3 separate regions of the Homo sapiens genome follow, and all the other regions are linked to region 3. The links are contacts of gene promoters, found by promoter capture Hi-C in blood cells and fetal thymus (Javierre and others, 2016). All regions are on one chromosome and are shown on one strand. The core of a region is centred on a gene start or on the middle of the fragment in contact, and the rest is flanking DNA. Distances in the headings are between cores, read along the strand shown. Region 1 overlaps GPATCH1 (G-patch domain containing 1). Region 2 holds the start of GPATCH1 (G-patch domain containing 1). Region 3 holds the start of TDRD12 (tudor domain containing 12).

What was found. Contacts are between HindIII fragments. The CHiCAGO score rates a contact against its expected background, and 5 or more counts as called.
Region 1: a contact is called between a fragment that was not itself captured here and the fragment with the promoter of TDRD12 in region 3, in 1 of 17 cell types (erythroblasts). The highest score is 6.1, in erythroblasts.
Region 2: a contact is called between the fragment with the promoter of GPATCH1 here and the fragment with the promoter of TDRD12 in region 3, in 1 of 17 cell types (total CD4 T cells). The highest score is 5.0, in total CD4 T cells.

Annotation. Positions count from the first base shown.
Region 1 is chr19:33,111,266-33,115,139 of GRCh38, forward strand. It overlaps GPATCH1 (G-patch domain containing 1), which reads left to right. Exons shown (of 20, transcript NM_018025.3): 12 at 459-637; 13 at 1,221-1,348; 14 at 2,502-2,638; 15 at 2,988-3,154. Among named protein-coding and RNA genes, the nearest start is that of WDR88, 19 kb to the right of the region's middle. The HindIII fragment of the contact is 1,130 bases long and covers 1,306-2,435 here.
Region 2 is chr19:33,078,732-33,083,093 of GRCh38, forward strand. GPATCH1 (G-patch domain containing 1) reads left to right here and starts at 2,450. Exons shown (of 20, transcript NM_018025.3): 1 at 2,450-2,535. The coding sequence starts at 2,463. RefSeq lists enhancers at 2,345-2,674, 4,310-4,362. The HindIII fragment of the contact is 10,253 bases long and covers 1-4,362 here.
Region 3 is chr19:32,718,200-32,722,033 of GRCh38, forward strand. TDRD12 (tudor domain containing 12) reads left to right here and starts at 1,568. Exons shown (of 33, transcript NM_001366102.1): 1 at 1,568-1,897. The coding sequence starts at 1,874. The HindIII fragment of the contact is 20,000 bases long and covers 1-3,834 here.

The DNA.
Region 1 (3,874 bases), core at 621-3,120, 390 kb after region 3:
CCCAGCTACTCGGGAGACTGAGGCAGGAGAATGGTGTGAACGTGGGAGGCGGAGCTTGCAGTAAGCAGAGATCATGCCACTGCACTCCAGCCTGGGAGACAGAGTGAGACTCCATCTCAGAAAAAAAAAAAAAAAAAAAAAGAGAGATGGGGTTTCACCATGTTTGCCAGGCTGGTCCCGAACTCCTGACCTCAAGTGACCCACCCGCCTCGGCCTCCCAAAGTGCTGGGATTACAGGCATGAACAACTGCGCCTGGCCTAAATTTTTTTTAAAAAAGCACAATTTTGAAGGAAACAGCAATATTACCTGCCAAATACCTCACCATTCCCATAGTCATAAAAACAAGGATAAGGACTTATGAAATATACAGGGATACAGTGGTGCCCAGCAGATGTTCTCTTGTAAGCCCCATGTTTTCCTGAAAAGTGAAGCTGCTTCTTGTTCTCTGCCCCCGCAGATGCTCTGGAACGCTGTCTGGACCCCAGCATGACAGAGTGGGAGCGAGGCCGTGAGCGGGATGAGTTTGCCCGGGCGGCCCTGCTGTACGCATCTTCCCATTCGACCTTGTCCTCCAGGTTCACTCACGCCAAGGAGGAGGATGACTCAGATCAGGTTGAAGTCCCTCGAGACCAAGAGGTCTGTTGTCACCATGTCCCTTACCTGGTGAACTTTAATATTAAAGCACTGCCTAGCCAAAATAGTTTTTTCCTTTTTTTTGAGACGGAGTCTCTCTCTGTCGCCCAGGCTAGAGTGCAGTGGTGTGATCTCGGCTCACTGCAGCCTCCGCTTCCTGGGTTCAAGCGATTCTCCTGCCTCAGCCTTCCAAGTAGCTGGGATTACAGGCGCTCGCCACAACAGCCATCTAATTTTTGTATTTTTAGTAGAGATGGGGTTTCACCATATTGGCCAGGCTGGTCTTGAACTCCTGACCTCAGGTGATCCACCCGCCTCGGCCTCTCAAAGTACTAGGATTACAGGCATGAGCCACCATGCCCGGCCGAGCCAAATATTTTTAATCCCTTGGTGAGAAGATCAAAATATACATGTATAGGAGAATAGGAAACCATTTTATGCCTTAGTTTCCAATGTACTGGAGCATAAATGTTATAGCACAAACTTTTTTCACAGTTCTAGAAGATTGCTTGAAAATTTTAAATGGGAGAGCAGTCAGGTCAGTGGTGCGGCCACTTGATGGAACAGAATGCATGTCTTTTTCCAGAATGATGTCGGGGATAAGCAGTCGGCTGTGAAGATGAAGATGTTTGGGAAGCTCACCCGAGACACGTTTGAGTGGCACCCTGACAAGCTTCTATGTAAGAGATTTAATGTCCCTGACCCTTATCCAGAGTAAGTTGGATAAACCTTTACATCAGTACAAAATGTATTCTTGATATTAAAGCTAATTTTCCCCTTACATACTCATATAAATTCTTATTTTTTCTACATGAACTTATTTGCATATCACTGGATATACAAATCTACACATTTTATAGATTTGCTTTGATAAATTACTTCTATAATTTGTTACTAAAACAAAATCTGGATAGCAAACTTTATTCCATATTGAAGCTATGAAACTCAGATATGTCAAGTTACAAAAGCATTATGCCTCTCTCATTTGCCACCTTCTTGTTGCTGCTCATGTGGTTTACATTTATAATGTTACTTATGTTTTTAAATTATCATTATAAAAGTTAAACACTTTCTTATTTGATTAATAACACTTCAAGAGGTGGGGTGTGGTGGTGCACACTTGTAATCCTAGCTTGGGAGGCCAAGGCAGGAGGATCGCTTGAGCCCAGGAGTTCGAGGCCAGCCCGGGTAACATAGTAAGACCCCATCTCTAAAAAATCAAACAAACAAACAAACAAACAGAACACTTCAAGATAGTAGGCCGGGTGCAATGGCTCACGCCTGTAATCCCTGTATTTTGGGAGACTGAGGCAGGCAGATCACTTGAGGTCAGGAGTTCAAGACCAGCCTGACCAACATGGTGAAACCCCGTCTCTACTAAAAATACAAAAAATTAGCTGGGCGTGGTGGTGCGTGCCTATAGTCCCAGCTATTTGGGAGGCTGATGCAGGAGAATTGCTTGAACCTGGGAGGCGGAGGTTGCAGTGAGCCAAGATTGTGCCATTGCACTCTAGCCTGGGTGACAAGGCGAGACTCAATCTCAAGAGAAAAAAAAACAAAACAAAAAGATAGCATATGTGGTCAAACCAGAGACTGTCAGAAACTTTAGGTATATTTTTATCAGTGGAGCTTTTCCTTAATGGAAATCCATTTTGAAAGTTAAATTCTTGTCCTTATCATAATAAGGAAAATCTCATGGGACCTAAAATCAGTCACCCAGATTCTCGAACTGCTTTGAGAAGTGAAAGCATCTTAGGAGACTTTTTAGTCATGCAGAAGAGGTGGAAAACTTGAGATGGAAAGCTTTTCAGGAGGTGGATTTTGTCCTACTGGTTGTTACTAAAATGATTCTTTTTTCAATTCCCAGTTCAACTTTAGTTGGCTTACCAAGAGTGAAGCGTGACAAGTACTCAGTCTTCAACTTTCTGACGCTCCCAGAGACAGCTTCCTTGCCCACCACTCAAGCATCAAGTGAAAAAGTATCACAGCACCGAGGTCCCGACAGTGAGTAGGGCGTCCCCGGGGTCTCTGATTGACCAGGGCCTCAACCCCTAGCCTGTAGGAAGACAGAATTAAAGGGTAGTTTAGTCCTAACAATGTGAATGGTGCATATTCTCCCTCCATTGAGGGAATTACTCTTACTAATAACTTAGCTCATGTTGTAATGGTCCAGATGTTTACTCTTTGGGGTTGGGGCTCTGTCTCTGCCTCTGCCACCTACCTCCCCAGGACCCTACACAGTGCCAGGCCCCTAGTAGGCACGCTGACATTCTGAGTGAATGAAAGAGCAGTGGTGAAGAACTGGCCTTTTCCTTGCTAATGCTGGAGTTTATATCTATGTCCTGCCTTTCAGAATCAAGAAAACCATCCAGATGGGATACCTCTAAACACGAAAAGAAAGAAGATTCCATTAGTGAATTTTTAAGTTTGGCTAGATCAAAAGCCGAGCCACCTAAACAACAGTCCAGCCCCTTAGTAAACAAAGAGGAAGAGCATGCACCAGAATTATCCGCAAATCAGGTATTTGGGGCTTCCAGATTCTCTTTGCCACGCTGAGTGTGGCCCTTGCTTTTCTCTTTGGTGACACTTTCTCCTCGTGACTCACCAGCAGAGGCAGCCAACTATTGATCCATTTCCCCTTAAAGGCCATTTGGCTTGTTTCTAACTTTTGGCTATAACAAGTAAAGCTGCTGGGAGCATTCATGTGCAAGTTTTTGTGTGAATATAAGTTTTCATTTCTGTAGAGTACAAACCTAGTAGTGGGAATCCTGGAAAATATGTACATGTATATTTAACTTTATAAGAAGCTGTCAAACTGTATTCCAAAGTTATTTTTGCCTTATGTATTTTGAAGTGCACTTCTTAGGTGTATATACATTTAGGATTGCTATTTCTCTCTTTTTTTTTTTTTTTTTTTTTTTGAGATGGAGTCTTGGTCTGTCCCCCAGGCTGGAGTGCAGTGGCATGATTTCGGCTCACTGCAAGCTCTGCCTCCCCTCCCGGGTTCAAGTGATTCTCCTGCCTCAGCTTCCCAAGTAGATGGGACTACAGGTGCGCACCACCATGCCTGGCTAATTTTTGTATGTTTAGTAGAGATGGGGTTTCACCATGTTGGCCAGGCTGGTCTTGAACTGGGATTGCTATTTCTTTTCAGTGAATTGATCTTTTTTTTTTTTTCTCTGACACCGGCTTTTACTCTGTGCCCAGGCTGGAGTGCAGTGTTGTGATAATGGCTCACTG
Region 2 (4,362 bases), core at 1,200-3,699, 360 kb after region 3:
ACCTGGCTAATTGCTTCATATCTTTTTTATTTTTTTTTTCCCCTTAGAGACAGGGTCTCTATAGACAGAGATCCTCTGTCTATAGAGGATCTATGAGCAAGGTGGCTCATGCCTATAATCCCAGCACTTTGGGAGGCTGAGGTGGGTGGATCACCTGAGGTGAGAAGTTTGAGACCAGCCTTGCCAACATTGCGAAACCCCGTCTCTACTAAAAAAATACAAAAATTAGCCAGGTGTGGTGGCGCACGCCTGTAGTCCCAGCTACTCAGGAGGCTGAGGCAGGAGAATCGCTTGAACCCAGGAGTTGGAGGTTGCAGTGAGACGAGATCGCACCATTGCACTCCAGCTTGGGCAACAGAGTGAGACTCTGTCTAGACAAAGAAAATAAACTAAAAAAAAAAAAAAAAAAGAAAATTACAATTAAATTACAATTACAACTGGAAAGCAGTTGGGAGATTTCCTGAAGAACTTAAAACAGAACTACCATTAGACCCAGCAATCCCATTACTGGGTATATACCCAAAGGAATATAAGTTGTTCTACCATAAAGACAAATGCATGCATATATTCATTGAGGCACTACTCACAATAGCAGAGACATGGAACCAACCTACATGCCCACAAATGGTGGACTGGATAAAGAAAATATGGTCCACATACACCATGGAACACTACACAGCCATAAAAAAAGAACAAGACTGGCCAGGCGTGGTGGCTCATGCCTGTAATCCCAGCACTTTGGGAGGCTAAGATGGGCGGATCACGAGGTCAGGAGATCGAGACCATCCTGGTTAACACGGTGAAACCCCGCCTCTACTAAAAATACAAAAAATTAGCTGGGTGTGGTGGCAGGCGCCTGTAGTGCCAGCTACTCGGGAGGCTGAGGCAAGAGAATGGCGTGCCTGGGGGACAGAGCGAACTCCGTCTCAAAAAAAAAAAAAAAAAGAAACAACAAGACCATGTCCTTTGCAGCAACATAGATGCAGCTGGAGGCCATTATCCTAAACAAACTAATGCAGGAACAGAAAACCAAATACTGCATGTTCTCACGTATAAGTGGGAGCTAAACATTGAGCACACATGGACATAAAGAAGGGAATGACAGGTGCCAGGCGCAGTGGCTCACGCCTGTAATACCAGCATTTTGGGAGGCCGAGGCGGGTGGATCACTTGAGGTCAGGAGTTCAAGACCAGCCTGGCCAACATGGTGAAACCCAGTCTCTACTAAAAATACAAAAAAAAAAAAAAAAAAAAAAAAAAATGGCCGGGTGCGGTGGCTCACATCTGTAATCCCAGCACTTTGGGAGGCCAAGGTGGATGGATCGCCTGAGGTGGGGAGTTCGAGACCAGCCTGACCAACATGGACAAACCCCGTCTCTACTAAAAAAAAAATTACAAAATTAGCCAGACATAGTGGTGCATGCCTGTAATCCCACCTACTAGGGAGGCTGAGGCAGGAGAATCGCTTGAACCCGGGAGGCGGAGGTTGAGGTGAGCCGAGATCGTGCCATTGCACTCCAGCCTGGGCAACAAGAGTGAAACTCTGTCTCAAGAAAAAAAAAAAAAAAACCACCACAACAACCAACCAACCAAACAAACAAAAATTTAGCAGGGCGTGGTGGGGTGGACGCTTATAATCCCAGCTATCAGGAGGCTGAGGCAGGAGAATCACTTGAATCTGGGAGGCGGAGGTTGCAGTGAGCTGAGATCGCGGCCACTGCACTCCAGCCTGGGCGACAGAGCGAGACTCTGTCTCAAAAAAAAAAAAAAAAAAAAAGGGAATAACACCAGGGCCTACTTGAGGGTGGACCTACTTGAGGGTGGAAGGTACGAGGAGGGTGAGGATCGGAAAAACTACCTATTGGGTACTATGCTTATTACCTGGGGAGGAAATAATCTGTAACCCAAATCCCTTGCGACATGCAATTTACCTATATAACAAACTTGCACATGTACCCCTGAACCCAAAATAAAAGTAAAAAATAATAATAATAAAAATAAAGCGAAGCCCCACGGGGCGAGCATGAAATCTGGGAGCTCAGCCATTTCCCTGGAGGTGGCTGGGTGGGCGGTGGGAGTGGACGGGGCTGGGCAGTGACTGCTGCCAAGGCAGGGGGCTGGCGCGAGGGACGGGGGTAGGGGGCTGGGCAGGCATCGGTGTCGCCTCGCAGGGAACAGTTGGGTGGCTTCCAGCTTATGCCAGGAGTCTCCTCCTCACCCGCACATCGCGGGGCTAGGATGGGATGTCGTGGCTGCCAAATCCTCCGAGGCAACTCCTGCCTGGGACGGCCTACCACAGGATGGGCCTGAGAATCCGGAGCGCAGGCTCGGGCCGCTAGGACACCTTCCCCCGCCCGCGGACCCAGCCTTCCAGCATCACCGGGGTTCGCGGAGGAGAAAGAGGAAAGGCGTTTGGCCTGCCAAGGCCGCCGTAGCGAGGGGGCGGGGCCCGGAAGAGCAGGATGGCGGCGCGGGACAGTGACAGCGAAGAAGATCTGGTCAGCTATGGGACCGGGCTGGAGCCTCTGGAAGAAGGTGCGGGCCGCGTGGGCCGGCGGAGCCTGTGGAAAACAGGCCAAGGGCCCAGGATTCGGGCCACAAAAGCACAAGTCGGTGCTGGACCATTGTTAGATCGTTCCCAGCGCTGGGAACACGGCGACGAGGGAGGCGTTAGCCGCGCTCTCGGGGTGCTCACCTTCTGCAGCGACAGAGAGAGGTTTACAGGGACGGGAGACACAAGCGTGGCCGAACAAGGGGGCGGCGAGATAGAAACAAGAAAATGACGGAATAGCTAGTGTGAGAGCGGGGGGTGCTCAGGCAGTGTCTTCCCCGAGAGAGGACGTTTGAGCTCAGACTTGAAACCGAGGAAGAAAACAACCATGAGCAAATCTGGAGGGAAAGCATTTCAGGCAGAAGGAACATAAAGTGGCAAAGGCCCTGAAGTGGGAGCCAGTTTAGGAAATTGAGGGGCAGGCAGGACGGGTATGGTTGCAGCAGATGACAGCGGGGGAGACAGGTAGAAAAGAATGTCAGAGGGGCTGACAGGGGCTGGATCTTACTTGGTAGGGTAAAGAGTTTGGATCTTGTACTAAGTGCAGGATTAGGGTTAGGGTTAGGGTCATGGGAAATTACACAGGGAGGGATATATATATGATTTTTAGAGACAGGGTTTTGCTCTGTTTCCCAGGCTGGTCTTGAACTCCTGACTTCAAGTGATCCTCTCGCTTCTGCCTCCCAAAGTGCAGGGATTACAGGCTTGAGCCACTGTGCTCGGCCAATTTTTAATGTTATTCTATCTTTGATGTTGAGAATACACTGGTTGGGGATGGGTAAGAGTGAAGCAGGGAGATTAGCAAAAAGAGGTCAGGAGATGATGGTGGCATGGATGGGACAGCAGTGGTGGTGGTGTGTAGTGGTCTGGGTGGAGATATATTTTGAAAGCAGAGCTGACCATACTTGCTGGTGGAATGTGGGGGTGAGGGGCAAGATGAATCAAGGTTCTCTCCTGTGTTTCTGGTCTGTTCCACTTAACGACTTGACTTGTTCAGCAAGTTATGTATTGAGTGTCCAGTAAGGGCTGTTGGCTGTGCTAGCCCTGTAGGGAAGGCAGAGGAAGAATGGTGGAATCATTGGGCCACAATTTATTTGCAGACCTCCTGTTGGTGGGGGTCCCCTCCCTTTTTTCACCCTGACCACATCCTGCCAGGTTGATTGTACTTCTGGGATATCTCCACTTATGCCCCCTTTATTTCCTACAAACAGTTCTGGTGGAAACTTCTGCTGGATACTGGCCCTTCTTCTACCCTCGGCTTACAAAAGGTTGAGAAAGGGGCCAGGCACAGTGGTTCACACCTGTAATCCCAGCACTCTGGGAGGCTGAGGTGGGAGGATTGCTTGAGGTCAGGAGTTTGAGACCAGCCTGGGCATTGTAGTGAGACTCTGTCTGTAACAAACAAACAAACAAACGAAACAAAAGGCTGAGAAAGGCTAGTCTTCCGAATGCTTTTTATGTGTTTGAAGTCAGCTGTTGCATTTTCTTAAGACATCTCTGTTCTACACTCACTATCCCAAGTTCTTTTTTTATAGAGACAGGGTCTTGCTGTGTTGACCATGCTGGTTTCAAACTCCTGACCTCAAGCGATGCTCTCACCTTGGCTTCCCAAAGTGCTGGATTGCATGCATGAGCCACAGTGCCCAACATTTTTTATTTTAAAAATAGAGATGAGGCCGGGCGTGGTGGCTCACGCCTGTAATCCCAGCACTTTGGGAGGCCGAGGCGGGCAGATCGCGAATTCAGAAGATCCTAACCATCCTGGCTAACACGGTGAAACCCCGTCTCTACTAAAAATACAAAAAAAAATT
Region 3 (3,834 bases), core at 318-2,817:
CCACCTAATGGGTTCACCTTGCCCGCTGCCTAGACAGAGCCAATTTATCAAGACAGGGAATTGCAATGGAGAAAGAGTAATTCACGCAGAGCCGGCTGTGTGGGAGACTGGAGTTTTATTATTACTCAAATCAGTCTCTCCGAGCATTTGAGGAACAGAGTTTTTAAAGACAATTGGGCGGGTAGGAGCTTGGGAAGTGGGGAGTGCTGATTGGCCAGGTTGAAGATGGAATCAGAGGTTGTTGGAGTTTTTCTTGCTATTTACTCTTCCTGGTTGGTTTGGCAGAACTGGTTGAGGCAGATTATCGGTGTGGGTGGTGTCAGCTGATCCACTGAGCTGATTCAAGGATTGTTGTCTCATGCCTCCCTAAAATGTAAAAGACCAAGTGAGGCAGGAAAATAGGGTCTGGAGGTAGGGAACATAAGGCCGATTCACGCTTCAGCTATAAGGGGAAATACCCTCTCCATAGGGCATACACCGAGTAAATGACTTCGTAACTTTACTTCACCGTCTTCATTTACATCGGGCGTACCCCAAGCAGAAGGTATTTAAATTCACAGAAATTCTGCCGGGCCTTTGAGTCCCTGTGTTCAGGCCTGCTCCCACACTGTGGAGTGTACTTTTTCAATAAAACCCTTCATTCCTTCCTTGCTTTGTGTGTGCCTTTTGTCAAATTCTTTCTTCAAGACACCAAGAACCTGGACACCCTCCAACTTTAACACAAGCTGTGCCTCGACCACGTCTAGCAAATGTCGTTAGGACTTCCTGTGTCAGGGGCGCCTGTCCTCAACCTTGGCAAAATTTTTTGTTTTGTTTTGTTTTTTGAGACAGAGTCTCACTCTGTCGCCCAGGCTGGGGTGCAGTGGCCTGATCTCAGCTCACTGAAACCTCTGCCTCCCGGGTTCAAGCGATTCTCCTGTCTCAGCCTCCCAAGTAGCTGGGATTAGAGGCGCTCCCCACCATGCCAGGCTAATTTTTCTATTTTTAGTAGAGACGGGGTTTCACCATGTCGAGGATGCTAGTCTCCAACTCCTAACCTTATCAGGTGATCCGCACCCCTCGCCTCCCAAAGCGCTGGGATTACAGGCCTGAGCCACCTCGCTCTGCTGGCCAAATAAACTTTCTAAATGAACTGAGACCTATCTCACATTTTCAGGATTCACAGGCTCTTATCAATTTTGTTTCAGAGTCAAACCATGGACTGAATTCCTTCCCAAGGTTAGTTGGGCTTCCGCCCAGGAATAAACAAGGACAGCTTAAAGGTTAGAGGCAAGATGGAGTTGATTAGGTCTGATTTCTTTCACCATCACAATTTCCTCAGTTACAATTTTGCAAAGGTGGTTTCCAACGGACTCAGCCGCACGCGGCCCCTCTGTCCCTCCGGGGGACAGGCGAGTGTCCCTGGGGCCTGCAGGGCAGTCCTGCTGGCTGCAAAAGAGAGAATCACGCGACCCCTAGCCGGGCCTCCCAGGGCCTCCGCGCGTCAGTCCTCCTGGCCACCGCGTGGCGCTGTGCCTTACGTTGTTGGGCCGTTGGGTGGACCACGTGGTCTCCGACGCCTCAAGGCCTGCTCAGCGTGCGCGGGCATCCGGTGGGTGCGGGAGGCCCGAGGCCAGGCAGGCAGGGATCCCGCAGCGAGGGGCTGGTTACTGCCAGGACGGAGCGCATTGCCTCGAGCCGACCCCGGGGTCCGCGAGGGCTCCTGGGGACGAGGAGTGTGGGGCACCTGCCGCGGGGGGCCCAGGCGCTAAAGGTGGAGGGAAGGAACGCACTCGCGGCGGGGGCCTGGCCGGGGCGGACGCAGCCAGCCTCACCCGCGACGGTAGGGGACTTCCAGGGCGAGGGGGCCCATCTGCCCTCGGGCGCCAGGAGGATGCTCCAGCTCCTGGTGCTGAAGGTGAGCGCCGCCAAGCCAGACCCACGCCAGACCCACGCAGTCCCCCACCCCCACCCCAGCCGCGCACAGCCTCCCACCCCCACCCCAGCTCCGCACAGCTTCCTACACCCACCGCAGCCCCGCACAGCCTCCCACCCCCGACCCCAACCCTACACAGCCCCCACCCCTCCCCCCATCCCAGCCTCCACATCCCTCCACACCCACTCCTCCCAGCCCACGCATCCCCCCCATGTCCACTCCCTCTCAGCCCACACCTACTCCCCACGCCCACTCCTCCCCCAACCCACACATCCTCCCACACCCACTCCCACCCAGCTCCACCCCCACACTCACACATGCCCCCACCCCATCTCACTGCTGCACACTCCATCCCACTCCCACACATCCCAACCCCGTATATCCCATGCCGCCACACCACGCCCCCACTCCCACCCCACTCCCACCCCAACCCATCCCACTCCCAACCCCACACACCCCCAACTCCTACCCTAGCCCCAGCTCCCACCCGTTTCCTTATCGCTGCCCACCCCACAGTCACACCCTCGCCCCTGTCCCCACCCCATCCTTATTCCCACCGCCCCCACTCACACCTCCACCCCAACATTTCATCCCCCCACACTCAGCCCCACACACCCCACCACCACCCCATCTCCACTCCCACCTGCACCCCAGCCGCAGCCCACCCCACCTCCACTCCAACCCCACCCCGCCCTCCCCCACCTGAACCCTCCCTGCGCCCCCACCAGGGGGCACCCCGGGCTGGGAGCTGGGGTAGAACCCGGATGAGCCCGGGTTTCACGGGCCCTGGCGTGCTCCGGGATGCACCTGGAGGAGCGCGGAATTGGTTGCTCCTCCGAATGCTCGATCACCCGGGCCAAGCGACACTGGCGTCCCCAGGGCCCCGCTCTCCGTACTCCACGGGGCCCTTAGGCTCGGCGCCTGGACAGGGTCGGGTGGCCCGGGCAGCCCCAGCCCATGGGTCCGGGCTTCCCTCATGCCCCCAGTCTCTGTTGCCCTATCCGCTCACCGCGTGGGCTCTGCGTGGGCGTTGTTCTAGTCCTCGGGGAAGGGACGCCCGCCTGGACCCTTGCTTTTCCCCCTTGGAGTCCAGTGAGGGCTCATTGGTGAAGGGGAAAGCGTTGCTGGAGGAAGGAGTTGACAGGCCAGAGCAGAGGGGTGGGTATGGGTTATTGGAGAAAGGAAATCTAAATACTTTGAAAATCACACTTCAGTGGGCCCAGGAGCTGGACGTAGCAGATTGTGGGATTGTTTTATTTTATTTTATTATTTATTCATTTATTTTTTTGAGATGGAGTTTCGCTCTTGTTGTCTAGGCTGGAGTGCAGTGGTGTGACCTCAGCTCACTGCAACCTCCGCTTCCCGGGTTCAAGTGATTCTCCTGCCTCAGCCTCCCGAGTAGCTGGGATTACAGGTGCCTGCCACCACACCTGGCTAATTTTTGTATTTTTAGTAGAGACAGGGTTTCACCACGTGGCTGTTCTCGAACTCCTGACCTCAGGTGATCCACCTGCCTCCGCCTCCCAAAGTGCTGGGATTACAGGCGTGAGCCACCGTGCCTGGCCTATTTTATTTTATTTTATTTTATTTTATTTTATTTTATTTTATTTTGAGAAGGAGTCTTGCTCAGTCACCCAGGCTGGAGTGCAGTGGCGCGATCTCAGCTCGCTGCAAGCTCCGCCTCCCGGGTTCACGCCATTCTCCTGCCTCAGCCTCCCAAGTAGCTGGGACTACAGGCGGCCACCACCACGCCTGGCTAATTTTTTTTTTTTTTTGTATTTTTAGTAGAGACGGGGTTTCACCATGTTAGCCAGGATGGTCTCCATTTCCTGACCTCGTGATCCACCCGCCTCGGCTTCCCAAAGTGCTGGGATTACAGGCGTGAGCCACCACGCCCGGCCGGTGCGATTTTTAAAACC